Linked DNA regions of Homo sapiens: regions 2, 3, 4 and 5 are each linked to region 1. Evidence: promoter capture Hi-C in 16 types of primary human blood cells and fetal thymus (Javierre and others, 2016). All regions are on one chromosome and are shown on one strand. The core of a region is centred on a gene start or on the middle of the fragment in contact, and the rest is flanking DNA. Distances in the headings are between cores, read along the strand shown.

Region 1 (3,092 bases), core at 378-2,877:
TTTTACTGGTCAGGAAAATGAATGATATAAATTTTTAATTCTAACCTAAAACCTGCGTTAGTACTAACCTGAGGAAATAACATGGTTGTTTGTAAGCTAATCAAGAGCCCTTAAACTCCATTACATAAATGATACACTTACCCTTTGTATTAAGGGACTAACGGCTTCGCTTTTCAACAAAGCTGGATCTTCTGGCACACGCTCAGAAGATAGCCAGTACTTCAGAGACAGATTGCTTTGAGGGCACTGGAACCGCTGAGGGGCAGAGTAATCCTAATGAGAAAGAAAAAAGAGGACGCCTCTGGAGTTAAAATAAGACAATGCATCTGTGGAGAACACGGTGACTGAAGACTGGCAGAATTCTCAATATCTCAGGCCACTATACACTGCGCAGTTTTCATTTGTATTTTGGAGGTGCTCTAGAAAACTTAGAAATGATTAGAATAAAAAGTATGGATACTTTTAACCAGCCCATGTACAGGAAATTCTGTTGGTGTAGAAACGGTTCTGCTGTTCATTCCTTAACTGCTTCTGTTCCCACTTTGTCAGATGTAGGGCGAGGTGGTGGTGGTGAGTCCTAATTTTTTCTATCTCTATCCACAGTCTGGAATCGTTAGGATTATTTTAAGCCTTCATAACATTTGCGGACAGCTTGGAGTGTTTTGTACATGTAGTGGGGCAGTGCCTGGCCTCCTGTGAGAGATTGATCATCGGTAAACAATCCACACGAAACTCACTTGCCAGTGGACGGGGAGGATCGCTGCCATCCTTTCAGCAAAGAGCAAACGAATAAGGAGAGATCCGGGCCCATCCCTCCTCGCGCAGCAGTTTCTAGATTTTTACCCCGGCTTCATAAATGGCTACCAGCTGGCAGTCACAACACTTTCATAATGTTTGCACACAACTCATTTGGGTCGCTTTCTTTTCTTTCCTTTTTTTTTTTTTTTTTTTGAGAGAAACGGAGAGTCTTACTCTCTCGCCCAGGCTGGAGTGCAGTGGCGAGATCTCGGCTCACTGCAACCTCCGCCTCCTAGATTCCTGCGATTCTCCTGTCTCAGCTTCCCAAGTAGCTGGGGCTACAGGCGTGCGCCACTATGCCCAGCTAATTTTTTGTACTTTTTTTGGCAGAGACGGGTTTTACTATATGTTGGCCAGGCTGGTCTCGAACTCCTGACCTCAGGTGATCCGCCTGCCTTGGCCTCCCAAAGTACTGGGGTTACAGGCGTGAACCACCGCGCCCGACCATTATTTGGGTCGCTTTCTAATTTCTTTCTCCGTTTGTAGCTAGCGTTGCCCGAAGGAGATTTCAGAGAGATCCCCTGGAGAAAGGGACGGGGGATGTCGTTTTCCAGTAATTTCTGGGGGAAATCTGGGATAGTCAGGGGGTAAATCTAGTGCCGTTTGCTGAAGTTAAAAGGCGTGGGGAGCCAGGTGGTGCCCTGGAGGGAGGGCCGCGCGAGACGAGACCAACCTTCGGGACAGGGGAGAGCGGGGCTACTGAACGCAGGGGATTCCGCTGAGCCTCCAGCCCCTGAGCGTCCACCTTCGGCCCAGCTGGGGGACGCGGTCTCGGGAAGAAAGCCCGGAATCCCGAGCCGGCCAGCCGCGAGCAGCGAGTACCGGAGCGCGTGGGCAGGCGCGCGGAGGCAGAGGCGGGCCGGCGGCTGTCCCTTTAAGGGGCCGGTCTCCCGGCGCCGCCGGCCCAGACGCCAGGACGTGCCGGGTCCGCCCCGCCCCGCCCCGAAGCCGCCCGTTTCCTGCCGAGCGGCGCGACGGCACCTGAGCGACTGCGGCGGCGGCGGCGGCGGCGGCGGCGCCTCGGAGCGGGCGGCCCGGGCTGTAGTGCCGGCGCCGCCGCGTCTTCCCGGTCTCCTTTCCCGGCCGCACAGGGTGAGGGAGAGCAGGCCGCACCGGGACGGGCGCCGGCGGCGGGGAGCGCGGGGGGAGGCGGCGCCGGCCGCGGGGTCCTGGGGCAGGCGGGAGGGCCGCGCCGGGCGGGGGGGCGCGGCCGCGGGGCCCGGACGCCGCCCGCTGGGTAGGCCTCGGGCATCCGGTTGCCGCCGCGGGGCTCTTGTTGGGGCCGGGACGCCGCAGGGGGCGGGCTCGGAGGGACCTCCTCGGCCTCGCGGGGCCGCTCTGGGCCCGACCCCGGCTCTGTCGCGGCACCCGGGGCGCGGCCGAGGGACACCCCCCACCCTCCCCAAGGACGACTCTCCCGAAGGCGAGGTCGACCCGAGCGGGCCCTGGGGTGACCGAGGCACCTATTTTTAGCCAAGCCTGAGGGCCCCCGGGAGGGAAGGCGGATTACCGCCTCCTCGGCCGGTGGACGGAGGCAGCGCGTCTCCGGCGGCGTCCCCGGGCCGGAGCTGGGCCACACTTACGCCATGCTGGAGTTCCAGTCCTCGCCGCTGCCTCCGGCGGTCTGGGCGCTCGCCCCCTTCCCCGGCGCCCCTCCCGCTGCCCTTTGCGAGTCCCCAGGTCAGGGCGGGAGGCGGTTGGGCACGGAAAGCAGCATGAGGGGGGACTTTGGAAAAATCCATGGACCACTCTCGACACCGGCGAAGTTATCCCTTCCTGTCCCCGAGGGGTGTGTCCTAGCGATTCGGCCTGACCCCTTCAGTTTCCAAAAGTGAGATTTTTGGCCTTGGGGACCTCGCCGGAAAACTACGCGGGAAGTCTAGAGAAGTCGTCTGGCTCTCAGCCATACGTCTGGTGTGGGATGTGCAGCCCCGCATGCTGGCGGTGAAGGCGCTGGGTGCACTAGATGTGGGCAGCCCCGGACGCGGGCAGCGGCGTCCCAGCCGGCCCCAGTTGCACCTTGACTAGGTTAGGTTGAAAGTAAGCTGTTCAGTGTTGGCCCTTCTTTCCTGTGGGAGGAAGGAGGAATCTAAATTCAGAACTGTGTTGGCAAACGGATTCCTTAGCCGCTATTTAAGTTAGTAGTGCTTAAAGAGCTACGGTTGAAGTTAACTGTTAAGGTGTGTGTGTGTGTGTGAGTGTGTGTGTGTGATGACTTTGTGGAAAGCCTTGAGTAAAGAGCTACGGTTGAAGTTAACTGTTAAGGTGTGTGTGTGTGTGATGACTTTGTGGAA
Region 2 (3,092 bases), core at 390-2,889, 1.7 Mb after region 1:
ACCAAGGCTGATCCAGCTACTGTGAAACCAAATATCTAGCCTAACAGTGACAGAGACCAACTCTAAGCCCCTAAAATAGCCCCATTCAAGACTAATCACATGGTTGGCAAGTTGACTACACTGGGCCCTTTCTACCCTAGAAAAAAGAATATTTTACTTTGATAGAAGTAGAAACATTTGAGATGGATTTGCCTTTCCTCAGAGGCAGTGTTTGTTCCTCTGGCACAGGACTCCACATACCATATCACACCAAAGGACCCAGGCACCCAGTTTACAGCAAAGGAGGTAACCATGGGATTCACTGGTCATATCATAAACCACACCAACCAGAGGTAGGCAGACTAACAGAGCACTGGAACACCCTGATGAAGGCACAGCTGAAGCACCAGTTCAGAGGGCATACTCTATTAAAATGATGCACTGATCGGGTGTGGTGGCTCAGGCCGGAGCTCAGGAGTTCGAGACCAGCCTGGGCAATACAGTGAAACCCTGTCTCTACTAAAATACAAAAAATTAGCTGGGTTGGTGGTGGGCACCTGTAGTCCTAGCTACTCGGGAAGCTGAGGTAGGAGAATTGCTTCAACCCAGGAGGGAGAAGTTGCAGTGAGCCAAGATCACACCACTGTACTCCAGCCTGGGCGACTGAGCAAGACTCCGTCTCCAAAAGCAAAAAAAAAAAAAAAAGGAAGCACTATTCTCCAAGATGCAGTATATATTCTGAATTAAAAGGCTTTATATGATGCTGTGACTCCCATAGGAAAAACACATGAGTCTGGCAACAAGAGGTAAAAGCAGAAAGTGGGTTCACTTATCATGACTCCCAGTTTGTGCTTGGGATCCCTGTAACTCTAGGTTCTTCCGGAATAGTCTTGGTGCCCAAAGAAGGAACACTTTTGCCTACGAACATAGTAAGAGTGTCATTAAACTATAACTACAAGTACTGCCTGGTCATATTGTCTCTTTATATCTAGGGAATAAGAAGAGGAGTGATCATCTTTGGCTAGGGCAATCAACCATAATGATCAGGATGAGGCAGGGCTGCTAATACACAATGGGGGCAGAGAGCAGTATGTTTGGCACACAGATGATCCTCTCAGGGATCTCTTAACACCCCCTCAACCAATTCTGAAAATGTATGGACAAGTGTTACAACCCTGGCCTAAAAAGGGTATTATAACCAGTTAAGATACCAAGAACATCAGAGGTACCAGTTGAAGGTAAGGCAGAGTTACAATCGATAGTAGAGGTGAGAGACAGTGAATATCAGTTGCAACTCCGAGACCAGCTATAGCAGTGGGGGCCACAGTTCATCTCACTAGCCTTCTTCTTCTAATTTTCCTCCAGGATGAGACCCAACCAGAATGTCAGAAGAGCTGCTCCCCAAATGTATATGAAGAAGTAAAGTCTAATAGTGGAACAAGGGTTGTCTGTGGTGAACACAATAATGTGCCATCCAGATTGCCCTTCAAGAAGGGACTTGCTCTAACTGCTAATAGTGCTGTCAACAAAAAGCCTTCATGGGCAGATTTTCAGGGACCTCATCAGATGCAAAGAGACACTTCACCCAATGTCATGTCTTTCCCAATGTGATCCATACCCAATGACTGATTAAGATGGGAGTATAAGGGCCAGACCACTTTGGTCCAAAGCAGGACAACTCTGACAGGTCATTTTAGTTTCAGACCTCCCCACAGAAGCCATCAACACTGCCACTGGACGAAAACTGTAACTCTACTTCTCCACATGCTCAATCTTGTATCCTTGCTCTGCCCCTCATAAATGTTCATCCAAGGTTACTTCCTAATAAATATTCTGCATACTAAACTGTCTCAAAGTCTGCTTCCCAAAAGACCCAACCTGCAACACCTTAGTAGTCCAGTCAAGAGATGGCAGTGACTCAGATGAAAGTGGCAGTGGATGAGGTGCTGAGAAATAGGTTCATGACGTCTTAAGGCATGCATTCATATAAGTTGCTGATAGACTGGATATGTGGAGAAAGAAAAAAAAGGAATAAAAGATTACTCATTGAGGTAGAGGTTTGCAGCCAGGACAACTTTGTGAATGGTGGTGCTAATTACTGAGATGGGAAGATCAGGGAAGGAGATGGATGAGGGAGCAGTGAAACAAGAGTTTTGTTCCACATATGTTAAAGTGTAGATGCCTATTAGATATGTAAGAGAAATATAGAGCACATAGATGGAAAAACAAATTTTTACTACACGGAAGAAGCTGGAGCTTCACAAAATTTGAATCATCAACATATAGATGGTTACTTAAGGACTGGTTGAGATCTACGAGGAAGAAAGGCATGCCAAGATTTGGAGATAAGAGCAGGAAAACAATCCAACAAAAGAAAGCAAGAGGCACCAGTGTAGGTGGAAGAAAATAAGAGGTCAGTGTCCTGAAAGCAAAGTACACATTTTATCCTCAGAGACAAATTATCACAAGGGTTTACGAGAAGTCAGCAATTGATCCCCAAGGGATGGAAGTTCCAAAAAAGCAAAAAATAAAAAATAAATAAATAAATAAAAATTTAAAAATTCTGCTTATATAAGCAAATAAATCCTAATGCCTTGCTTTCTAATACTTTATCTTGCTGCAAAGGCGCTTACAGTGACAAAAAGCCAAATTAACAAATCCTAAGACCTCCAAATGACCAAGTCCTCCCAAAAGACTTCTCAAACAATTCCCTGTAATACAAATACCTGTAAAAAAATTTTTAAATCCTTCAGAATTTTATAAGGCTGACAAAGGTTTAGCTTCACTTTGTTTTGCTATAGTAATCAAAAGCAAAAATTACCAAGCCAAAACAAAAATCTAGAACTATGCACTAAGATACTACCATATGAAATTTAGCTTTACATAATTGGTTGTTATATTGCTCCATTAAACTGATTTTATATGCTTTACAAATGTTACCAATTGTAACATTAAAATATGATGTTTGTCATTGTGAGAGACAGTGTGACGATTCCTCAAGGATCTAGAATCAGAAATACCATTTGACCCAGCAATCCCATTACTGGGTATATACCCAAAAGATTACAAATCATTCTACTATAAAGACACATGCACACGTACGTTTACTGCAG
Region 3 (3,092 bases), core at 194-2,693, 1.2 Mb before region 1:
AATATTGGCTCTTCTTTGTTCTACAACAGCTTTTGGACTCGAAGTACAGCCTTTCCTGAGTCTCCAGCGCACTGGCCTCCCCCCATCAGATTTTGGACTCTCCAAGCTTCCACAAGCACAGGAGCCAATTCCTTAAAATAAATCTGTTTCTATATCCATATATACACATCCTATTCATTCTTTATCTCTGGGCAACCATGACTAGCTAATACAGTCTCTAAATCAAACTGTGGTACCTTCTTTACTAAGGAATTCCTTCTAATAGCTCTATACCCATTGGCTTTCACAACATGAATCAGGGGTTGAAATTTCTGCATATTTTTCTCAGATCTGCTCCAGGCGACTTCCTTTCCCATGGCTAGTTAAATGGGGACTGGAGAAGGCGGAGAAATACTCACATTTTTAAAAGATTACAGCTAATTATGTAGACACACTGGCCCTTAGACCTATCTTACCTGGCATTTTATAATTTCCCTTTCACACAATATAATTTAATTCATATTTGGGGGACAGGAATATTGATCTACACTGTAACTTGTCTAGTTTCTGGAACGATAAACTAAAACTTCAAGCATATAAAATATGTTTATACTCTAAATTTTTAGTTTTTTCCCTAGTATTTGTATGTCTAGATATAATTACAAAGTCTATGTGATGTTTTTCATGTGACGATCCAATACAGTGCTTCCCTGAGCCCTTAAAAAATAAAAAATAAAAATACAACTTAAAGAAACAAAAACTCCCTACCGTAGCCGCTACAAGGGAGGCTAAGGCGGGAGGATTGCTTGAGGACAGGAGTTCGAGGCCAGCCTGGGCAACATAGTAAGACTTCCGTCACAAACACAAAAACTCCCAACCCGGGTTCGAGACCAGCCTGACCAACATGGAGAAACCCCGTCTCTACAAAAAATACAAAAATTAGTCAGGCTTGGTGGCACATCCTTGTAATCCCAGCTACTCGGGAGGGTGAGGCGGAGACTCGCTTGAATCCGGGAGGCGGAGGTGGCGGTGAGCCGAGATCGCGCCATTGCACTCCAGCCTGGGCAACAAGAGCGAACTCCGTCTCAAGAAAAAAAAAAAAATCACCTCCCAACCGTATGGACCACGCTGACATCCTGCCATCAAGAAGCAAAGCTTTCCAGCGTCCCCCAAGCGCTAGGGCCGCCTTCTGACTCTTCCGCCCCGCCTCCGCCCCCTGCACTCTCCCAACTGGCGGGAGGAGGGCGCCCTCCCAGCCAATCAACGTCCCACAGGGCCCGCCTCCCGCGCGTCTTTCAAAGGTCTTCTAGGAACCAGTCAGCGATTAGAGGCCGAGTCTTCGGCCACCCAAAGGCGGAGTAAGAAACCAGAAGCGGATCTGATTGGTTGCTGGAAGACGCCGCGCCCACCTCACAGAAGGACGAACCAGTGAGCTAAGCTGCGGGGCGCGGGCTCGGCCGGGGCACCGGTGAGTCGCCGGCGCTGCAGAGGGAGGCGGCACTGGTCTCGACGTGGGGCGGCCAGCGATGAAGCCGGTGAGTCGGACGTGCTGGGGTTTGGAGGAGCGAGGCGGCAGGGACGCAAGCGGTCCCGGGGACCCGATCCTGGGCCGGAGGGCAGCCCTAGCCTGGTAGCAGTGCGACTGGCGCCGTAACCGTTCTGCGGGTCGGGGAGGTGACTCGCACGGGCCCAGCACGGGCACGAGAGACGAAGGAGCAGGGTCGGTGGCCGACGAAGGAAAGACGGACATTCGCTGTGCACCTGCTGTGGGCTGTCACCTGTCCCCTGCGGGGTCTCATAAGCCTCCCAGCCGCCCAGCCAAAGAGGGCCGAGCCTCGTTGTACCGAGGAAACCGAGCCGAAGAGCTTGAGTGTCAGCGATGAGTGGGCGCGATACCCCAGCCCCGAAGGGTGGCCGGGCGCTACCTGCGCCCACAGGGCCTGGGGAAACCTTGAGTACGAATGCCACGCCGCGGCTTGTGGGCGACACCACCGCTGTCACCATGCCCCAGGGCCACCTGGCAATGCTGCTCTTTTCCCGTGACGTTCAGAATCACAGGGCCTGGGGAAGCAGAAACGTCCAGCTCTGTTAGGATTAATAAACCTGGTGAATGGGCCACACAAATTTGAAATATGAATCATCAAAGTTGCTTTAAAGAAAAAACAGATGCAGGCAAGGAGCTGAAGATCCCCCACCTAACCCATATTTCCTACTGCCCGGCTTGACAACCTACTGGAAGCCTTTCCTTTGGGTGCAGTTGATTATAATACTTCAGATAGAGCCAAAGCAACAGAAATCCATAGCCTAGGGCCGGGTGGTGTCTCGCGCCTGTAATCCCAACACTTTGGGAGGCCAAGGCGGGCGGATCACTTGAGGCCAGGAGTTGGAGACAAGCCTAGCCAACACGGTGAAACCCCGTCTCTACTAAAAATACAAACATTAGCTGAGCGTGGTAGTGCACGCCTGTAGTCCCAGCTACTCGGGAGGCTGAGCCACGCAAATAGCTTGAACCCAAGAGGCAGAGGTTGCAGTGAGCGGATATCACGCCACTGCCCTCCAGCCTGGGCGACAGAGCAAAACCCTATCTCAAGATAAAAGAAAGAAAGAAAAAAAAGTCCGTAGCCTAAATTAGCCGTCCTGTGATCTTCTAGTACCAAGACCGTTGTAGAATATAGCTTCAGAGCTAGAAAGAGCATTAGGTGCTTACAATTGCTAATCCCTATGTTGCCATGTGGAGGGACATCAGCTGTCCTTCACTCCTGGCCTCTTTCTCCACCTGTCCCCATTGAGTTATCTGATCCCCGAGTTTGGAAGGAACTGAACACCAGTATCTCAACTTTTTCTTTCCTTCTTTCTTGGGATCTACCTGCCTGCCTGCAGAAGGTGCTTTCTGGTCCACTCTCTGGCACACAGGAGCCCCAGACTGTCCATGGCCACCTGTGACTGGGTGGATACATTTGTCTAATTCTGGGGTGAACAAGGGGCAAGCCCACGTGGCAACAGCTTTAAGCTGCATACTCCATTTGATATACAATAATAAAACTCCATTTCTTTATCTTTCAATTGGTTTCAACTAGGGAGTGAGAAAAGGGTATGGGTTTTGTTCTGTTTTG
Region 4 (3,092 bases), core at 367-2,866, 1.1 Mb before region 1:
TACTAAAAATACAAAAACAAAATTAGCCGGGTGTGGTGGCGGGAGCCTGTAGTCCCAGCTACTCGGGAGGCTGAGGCGGGAGAACGAACGGCGTGAACCAGGGAGGCGGAGCTTGCAGTGAGCGGAGATCGCGCCACTGCACTCCAACCAACGCGACAGAGCGAGACTCCATCTCAAAACAAACAAACAAAAAAACAAAATTAGCCGGGCGTGGTGGCACATGCCTGTAATCCCAGCTACTTGGGAGGCTGAGGCAGGAGAACTGCTTGAACCTGGGAGGCGGAGGTTGCAATGGGCCGAGATCCCGCCATTGCACTCCAGCCTGGGCCACAAGAGTGAAACTCCGACTCAAAGAAAAAAAAGTACATACAGATCTGGATTGGATCTCAGAAGCAAGGTCTTCTGAGCTGTAAATTCACAAGTCATCTGAATATAGATGGTAACTGAAGCCATAGTTTAGGATGAAGAATACAGAATGGAAAATGAAGGATTAGGATGAAACCTGGGACTCCTTCGAGCATTGTCCAGGGAAAGGAGAATAGTCTGAAAGGGAAACAGATGGACCAATAGGAGAAGTAGGAGGAGCTCTGTATCCCAGAAGCCAAAGGGGAAGAATGAAGGAAGAGAATGCTTCAAAAACAAGAGAGTATAACACTCTGGAATGCAGCTAAAAGGTCAGAGAAGACGAAAACTGAAAAGAATCCATTCGATTCAGTGACCATGACAAGATCTATTCGATGAAAGTGGGCTGAGAATTGAGTGGATGGTCACAGAGAGCAGTGTTTTGTTGTTTCTAATGAAATTTACCCATATTTTAAAACCTAATGGGATGGATCCAAAAGATCCTTGATGGCGATTTATTTAATTTTCCACTTTATTTTTATGCTTGGGGTCCATCCCATGTAAGAACAGAAGCCACAGCCCCCAGAACCAACAAAACTAAAGTTATTGACAATTACTTTAAGGCCCAGTGCCAAAGCTTTGGGTCGAAAGGTTTCCAACTGCCATAGGAAAGCAAAGATAAGGAGAAATCCTCTGTAGGAAGCTAGGGAAAGGAGCAGAGAGAAAGAAGCTAAGGTGAGGCCGAGAGAATTCAATCGGAATTCGAGTCCTCCCCCAAAACGCCGCCAGGTGGAAGATGCTCGGGGCCCACCAACCCCTGGAACCTGGCCACGGCCCTGGCAGGGAAAGCAGGAATTGAGGGAGCCCTCCGATGGGGCAGACCCCTTTCCCTCCAACCTACAGCTCAGAAGCTGAAGCCCTCCAACCAGAAGGACCTGGCGTGGGGCCTCCCCAACCCCCCTGCTCGTGGCCGCACCCTAGTCCCATGGCCCGCTGGGCGGGTCCACCCCGGGCCCAGCTGGAAGATGCTGCCCTGAGGCGTGGTGGCGGCGGCAGAGGCCAAGTACTCTAGCTATGGGCACTGGCCAGCTGCTGGGAGCGGAAGCGGCCGCCGAGCCCTCCTGGGCGCTGCCCGCCGCCGCCGGCTCCGGAAACCGGGAAAACCCGGCTGGCCGGCTCGCCCAGCCCTCCGGCCCCCGCCCTCCCAGCGGCAACTCACCATTTTCCTTCCGGCCGTCAGCGGCCTGTCGCCTACACTCGGGCGCCTTTAAGAATGGCACGGCGGCCGCCTCCCTTCCTGCCCCGGCGCCTGGCCCAGTCGCCCCCACCTATCAACGCGGCCTCAGCGGGCCGGCACGTGATGGCGGACGGCAAAAGGCGCGGCTCAAAATTAGACAGAATGCGATCGCCTGATTTTTTTTTTTTTTTTTTTTTTTTTTTTTTTCTTTTCCCTGCTCCCTCTAGAGGAGGACGCTCTGCCTGGCTGCAAGTGAGAAACAAACCCAAGGTGCATACTTAAAAGTCATGCCAGTTCTCCGGACCTTTTTCGCAGTCTTCAAGCTCTGAGAGCATGTTAATGGTGACATCAATGTTTTCAATGGTAAATGTGTGTACTGACCGCAGCCTACCTTCCAAATTTGATCTCCCTCAAATCTAGGCACACCTCCTTTCCTCCCACCCTCTCCAGAACCCCACTTCTGACCACGGCTGCCTTCCAGGACTTGGTTAATCAATCTCTCTCTCTCTCTCTCTCTCTTTCTCTCTCTCTCCCTCCCCCTTTCCCTCTCTCTCTTACACACATTTCTTCTCTCTCACACACACACACATTTCTTCTCTCTTCTCTCACACACACACATTTCTTCTCTCTCTCTCTCGTCTCGCTCTGTTGCCCAGGCTGGAATGCAGTAGCACGATTATAGCTCACAGCAGCCTCAAACTCCTGGGTTCAAGCAATCCTCCTACCTCAGCCTCCCCAGTAGCTGGGACTACAGCCGTGTGCCACCACACACCCGGCTAATTTTTAAATTTTTTTGTAGAGATAGAGTCTCCCTATATTGCCCAAGCTGGTCTTGAACTCCTGGCCACAAACAGTCTTCCTGTGTGCCTCCCAAAGCGCTGGGATCACAGGCGTCAGCCACCATGCCCAGCCTCTTTTCTCCATACAAGTTATTTATTGAAGTATGAATGAATGATGATTGGTGTTTCAATGAGCACTCTTATGGGCCACTGCCTAAGTAAACATCAAGAAGTCTCTGTACCAGATGCAGACTTAGTGGAACAAGTCCAGTTTTGAATGCATGAAGAAAGTGGTTTGGGAGAAGTAAAGTTTAGGCTCTAGGATTCAACAGGTACCTTCAATAAAACAAACTGCCTGGGGCAGTACCTCATTTTGTTATGACCATGGGTTCTTGGTCTCTCAATGCAAATTGACCTGAGGCCAAAAGAGTTTCTCCAGGCAAGGCTTCATTGGAGCTTATGCCGGAGCATAAGGGAGGCAGCATAAGAGAATGAGAGAATTCCCTGACTGACTCTCCTAAAAGAGCACAACAAATTAGGGGTAGTTTATGCAGGTCAGCATTATCTGTTTGCCAGGGTTGTCTTGAGTAATGGGCCACCCAATGGTCTGGTTTGCGGCAACAAGGCTGTGAATCAATTGTTCAACATTCCTCTCCAAGGTGGGACACTCTCAACCTTGGTTATCTCCTAAGGCCAGTCATTGGAATTCTTTAAATAAAAGGACTATTAGCAGT
Region 5 (3,092 bases), core at 239-2,738, 1.0 Mb after region 1:
AGTCCGAGTGGGGCTGCGGCGCTCCGGGGGCATCCGCGGCGGCGTGGCGGTGTTCGCCGCCGTGGCCGCAGTGTTCACCTTCACCCTGCCCCCTTCGGTACCGGGGGGAGACTCCGGTAAAGTACTCGCAGGGTTGCCCCTTCTGTCCCTCTCCCCTGGTCCCAGAACGGGCAGGGTCTGCGTCTGGCCCCTGCTCTTGGCATTCGGTCTGGTCAGCTCTGGGCCTCCATCCACCCCCCTGTGCACAGCGCACTATTGTGTGTTCCAGAGCCCACTTCTGTTTCCATTCCTGTCGTTGTGGTTTCTTTAGTTCTCAGGTTTTCGAGATGGGGCGTATTGTTGGTTTCGCCTGGTGGGGCTTATCGACCTCTCCACTTCCCCAGATCTTTTATCCTGGTCCTGAGTATTTACTTTCAGTCTTTTTTAGTCCACAGATATTATTCACGGTGTCCTTATTATGTTTCAAACAAAAGAACAGTAGTGGCGAACAGATAATTGCTAGTGTTCCAGTGCGGTTAGACAATACACAAGTTAATGAATAAACAGCATATTCACTGGTGATAAGTTATGGAGACAGTAGGAGGGAAATATGATTGAGAGTGGGGGTAAGTAGTGGGTCCTTCCGAATGACTATTCAGGAAAGACCTCTGAAGAGGTGGTGTTTTAGTTGAAACCTGAATATTGAGAAGGAACTAGCCATGCAGAATATTTGCAGGAGAACTCTTAAAAAGGTGGAAGCCAGGTGCGGCTGTTTCTATGAAAAAGAAAAGCATGACTCATTGGCCCTTAAATCACACTAATTGTTTTGTATTTGATGCAAGAAACAAGATCCATGTTTTGTTTTTGGATTCAATAATGCCATATCATGGCCAGTAATTTTGTCAGAATAGTGCTGTAATTTCAGGTGGTGAACCTATGGACTGAAGAAGCAGTTTTTGCTGCATGACTAGTGATCCCCAAATTGAGCAGCTTAAACAGCAAACGTTTATCGTCTCCCGTTTTTGTAAATCAGGAGTCTGGGTGCCGTTTAAGCTAGATGCTCGTACTCAGAAAAAGGTTGCTGTCATGGTGTGCGATGGGGCTGCGGTCTTCTCAAGGCTCAATTTGGGGAGAAACGCAATCTAGTTCTTTGCTATGTGGGTCTCCATAAGTTAACTGACTTCTGTCAAGAAAAAGATGAAGGACACCTCTCTGTCTGACAGCTCTGTCATTTTGTAACCTAATACTGTAAGTGATATACCACTTCTGCATTTTATTCCTGGAACTTCGTCAGTAAACCCAACCCATATTCAAGGGGGAAGGATTACACAGGTGAGAATATCAGGACTTGGGGATTAGTGGGGATCATATTTAGGGCTGCCTACCACGTTGAAGATCTTTGATGTTACATCTTCAAATTGTTACCTTTCTTCTTTCAGGTCCTGTTGCACAAGTAGGGATAGTGTTTCATTCGTGTAGTAGGGAGTTTCTGTACAGTGTTACCAAGATTGGTATTTCATAATGGAAGTAACTTTATAGTTGTGAGTTTTGGTGCTGGAGAGCATTATTCAGAGGTTAGGTAGTTCTGTTACTTGTAAAAAAATAAAAAGATTGACAGCTACTTATGGTTGGTTGAGTGTGAAGGATGGGAGTGAGATTTATAATAACTGACGTTTGTTGGGCACTTACTATGTGCCAGGCACTGTTCCAAGTGCTTTATATGGGTTGTTGTTTTAACCCTCCCAGCTACCCTTAAAAGTAGGTGCAATTATTATTTTCCTTTTATAAATGGGAAAACTAAGGCTAAGCTATGCCCAAAGTCACACAAAGTAGAGAAATCAGGAAAAGAAAAGTATATTGACTTCAGAATATGCCCCCTTAACCTCTACTTTTCGTCAAAACATTTCATGAAATTCTTTTCTAAATCCACCATCACATATGTAGTGATGTTTAAAATTTATTTAAAATCATGATTATTGCCTTGCCTTTATTAATACTGTATTTTATTTTTTCCTAAAAGAATAAAGTTGTGTATTCACCTTGAGTTACCAAACTTTAGGTGCTTTAATTTTGTTTGGTTTGATGTTAAATAGTGGTTGCTTCTAATATTTTTATGTTCATTTTTGGGAATGATAAACTGTTTTCCAAGTATATGCCAATATGGAAAATTTGCTTTATCGTATATTTGATAATTGTGTTTACATGTTGAATGCACTATTCTTGAATGTTTATGAATTATATTTTCATCAATAAACAGAACACATCTCAAAACCAGTATAAAGCATGTATTCTTCTTCCTGATAAGTCTTACATTTTACTCCATAGATTCATCACATTGTGTCGTCTTGCCAAAATTATTTTTTGTACCACTTGACACACACAGTTCATTTATGGGCAGGGTGCTTGTGGTGCTTTTCGGGGAGGGGGTAGGAATCTGGCCTTCACTAAATTAGTTTGTACGTGAGTTTATTTCAAAGATACTGTCTTTAACAGATGTGATGTGTGACAGTCTAGTCTAATTAATATTGAGAAGTATGATATAAAGGGAGCTGGTTTTTGTAAAGGTTAAGCATCTGCTGACAACTCTGGGCTTGCCATTAGTTTGTATTGCAGACAACAAAGCCGTGGTTCTCAGACAGGAACGTACTTCAGAATTACCTGGGAAACTTGAGCCCCCAGTGCAAGTGGGTCTTAGTAGATTATGGAATTTGGAGGTGTGGGCAAGGAATCTTCATTTTTAAAAAGCAGGTTAATTCTGATGCAGGTAGACACAACTGAGGAACCTTTCATGTAAAGGGTTGGGAGAAAGCCAAGACTCGGGAAGCTCGAGGTTTTTTTACTATTCCCTTCCTCTTTATCACAATCAATTTAAGAGTAGTATTTCCCTTTAGATCTTTATCAAGGTTACATTTAGAGACGTTGAATGGGGACATCTTTTCTATTTCGATTTTAGTTTAACATTTGATAAGAATTGATGAAAGTTTGTCACATTCCAGATTTATCTTTATAGCAGCAGAAGTCTGGCAAATAATAACAGCACACTGACTTTTCCATGGTAAAAAGAAGTTAGAGAAAAACAGCCTATTTTTCTTAATGTTAAATGTAATTCTGAA

What was found. Contacts are between HindIII fragments. The CHiCAGO score rates a contact against its expected background, and 5 or more counts as called.
Region 2: a fragment that was not itself captured here is called in contact with the fragment with the promoter of KTN1-AS1 in region 1 in 2 of 17 cell types (non-activated CD4 T cells and M1 macrophages); the score reaches 5.5 in non-activated CD4 T cells.
Region 3: a contact is called between the fragment with the promoter of CDKN3 here and the fragment with the promoter of KTN1-AS1 in region 1, in 1 of 17 cell types (total CD8 T cells). The highest score is 6.0, in total CD8 T cells.
Region 4: the fragment with the promoter of GMFB here is called in contact with the fragment with the promoter of KTN1-AS1 in region 1 in 4 of 17 cell types (activated CD4 T cells, total CD8 T cells, naive CD4 T cells and 1 more); the score reaches 7.3 in activated CD4 T cells.
Region 5: a contact is called between a fragment that was not itself captured here and the fragment with the promoter of KTN1-AS1 in region 1, in 7 of 17 cell types (fetal thymus, total B cells, naive B cells and 4 more). The highest score is 9.3, in fetal thymus.

The regions. Positions count from the first base shown.
Region 1 is chr14:55,578,465-55,581,556 of GRCh38, forward strand. KTN1-AS1 (KTN1 antisense RNA 1) reads right to left here and starts at 1,628. Exons shown (of 3, transcript NR_027123.1): 1 at 1,472-1,628; 2 at 142-273. KTN1 (kinectin 1) reads left to right here and starts at 1,743. Exons shown (of 44, transcript NM_001079521.2): 1 at 1,743-1,890. RefSeq lists enhancers at 968-1,087, 1,098-1,187 and silencers at 1,628-1,887, 1,948-2,587, 2,767-3,061. The HindIII fragment of the contact is 5,026 bases long and covers 1-3,092 here.
Region 2 is chr14:57,255,171-57,258,262 of GRCh38, forward strand. The region is part of intron 1 of EXOC5 (exocyst complex component 5); the gene reads right to left. Among named protein-coding and RNA genes, the nearest start is that of EXOC5, 12 kb to the right of the region's middle. The HindIII fragment of the contact is 5,789 bases long and covers 1-3,092 here.
Region 3 is chr14:54,395,564-54,398,655 of GRCh38, forward strand. CDKN3 (cyclin dependent kinase inhibitor 3) reads left to right here and starts at 1,444. Exons shown (of 8, transcript NM_005192.4): 1 at 1,444-1,514. The coding sequence starts at 1,506. The HindIII fragment of the contact is 7,211 bases long and covers 1,133-3,092 here.
Region 4 is chr14:54,487,364-54,490,455 of GRCh38, forward strand. GMFB (glia maturation factor beta) reads right to left here and starts at 1,617. Exons shown (of 7, transcript NM_004124.3): 1 at 1,562-1,617. The coding sequence starts at 1,564. RefSeq lists a silencer at 1,300-1,699. The HindIII fragment of the contact is 2,730 bases long and covers 978-3,092 here.
Region 5 is chr14:56,579,959-56,583,050 of GRCh38, forward strand. It overlaps TMEM260 (transmembrane protein 260), which reads left to right. Exons shown (of 16, transcript NM_017799.4): 1 at 1-116. Among named protein-coding and RNA genes, the nearest start is that of TMEM260, 1.7 kb to the left of the region's middle. RefSeq lists a silencer at 1-127. The HindIII fragment of the contact is 4,901 bases long and covers 1-3,092 here.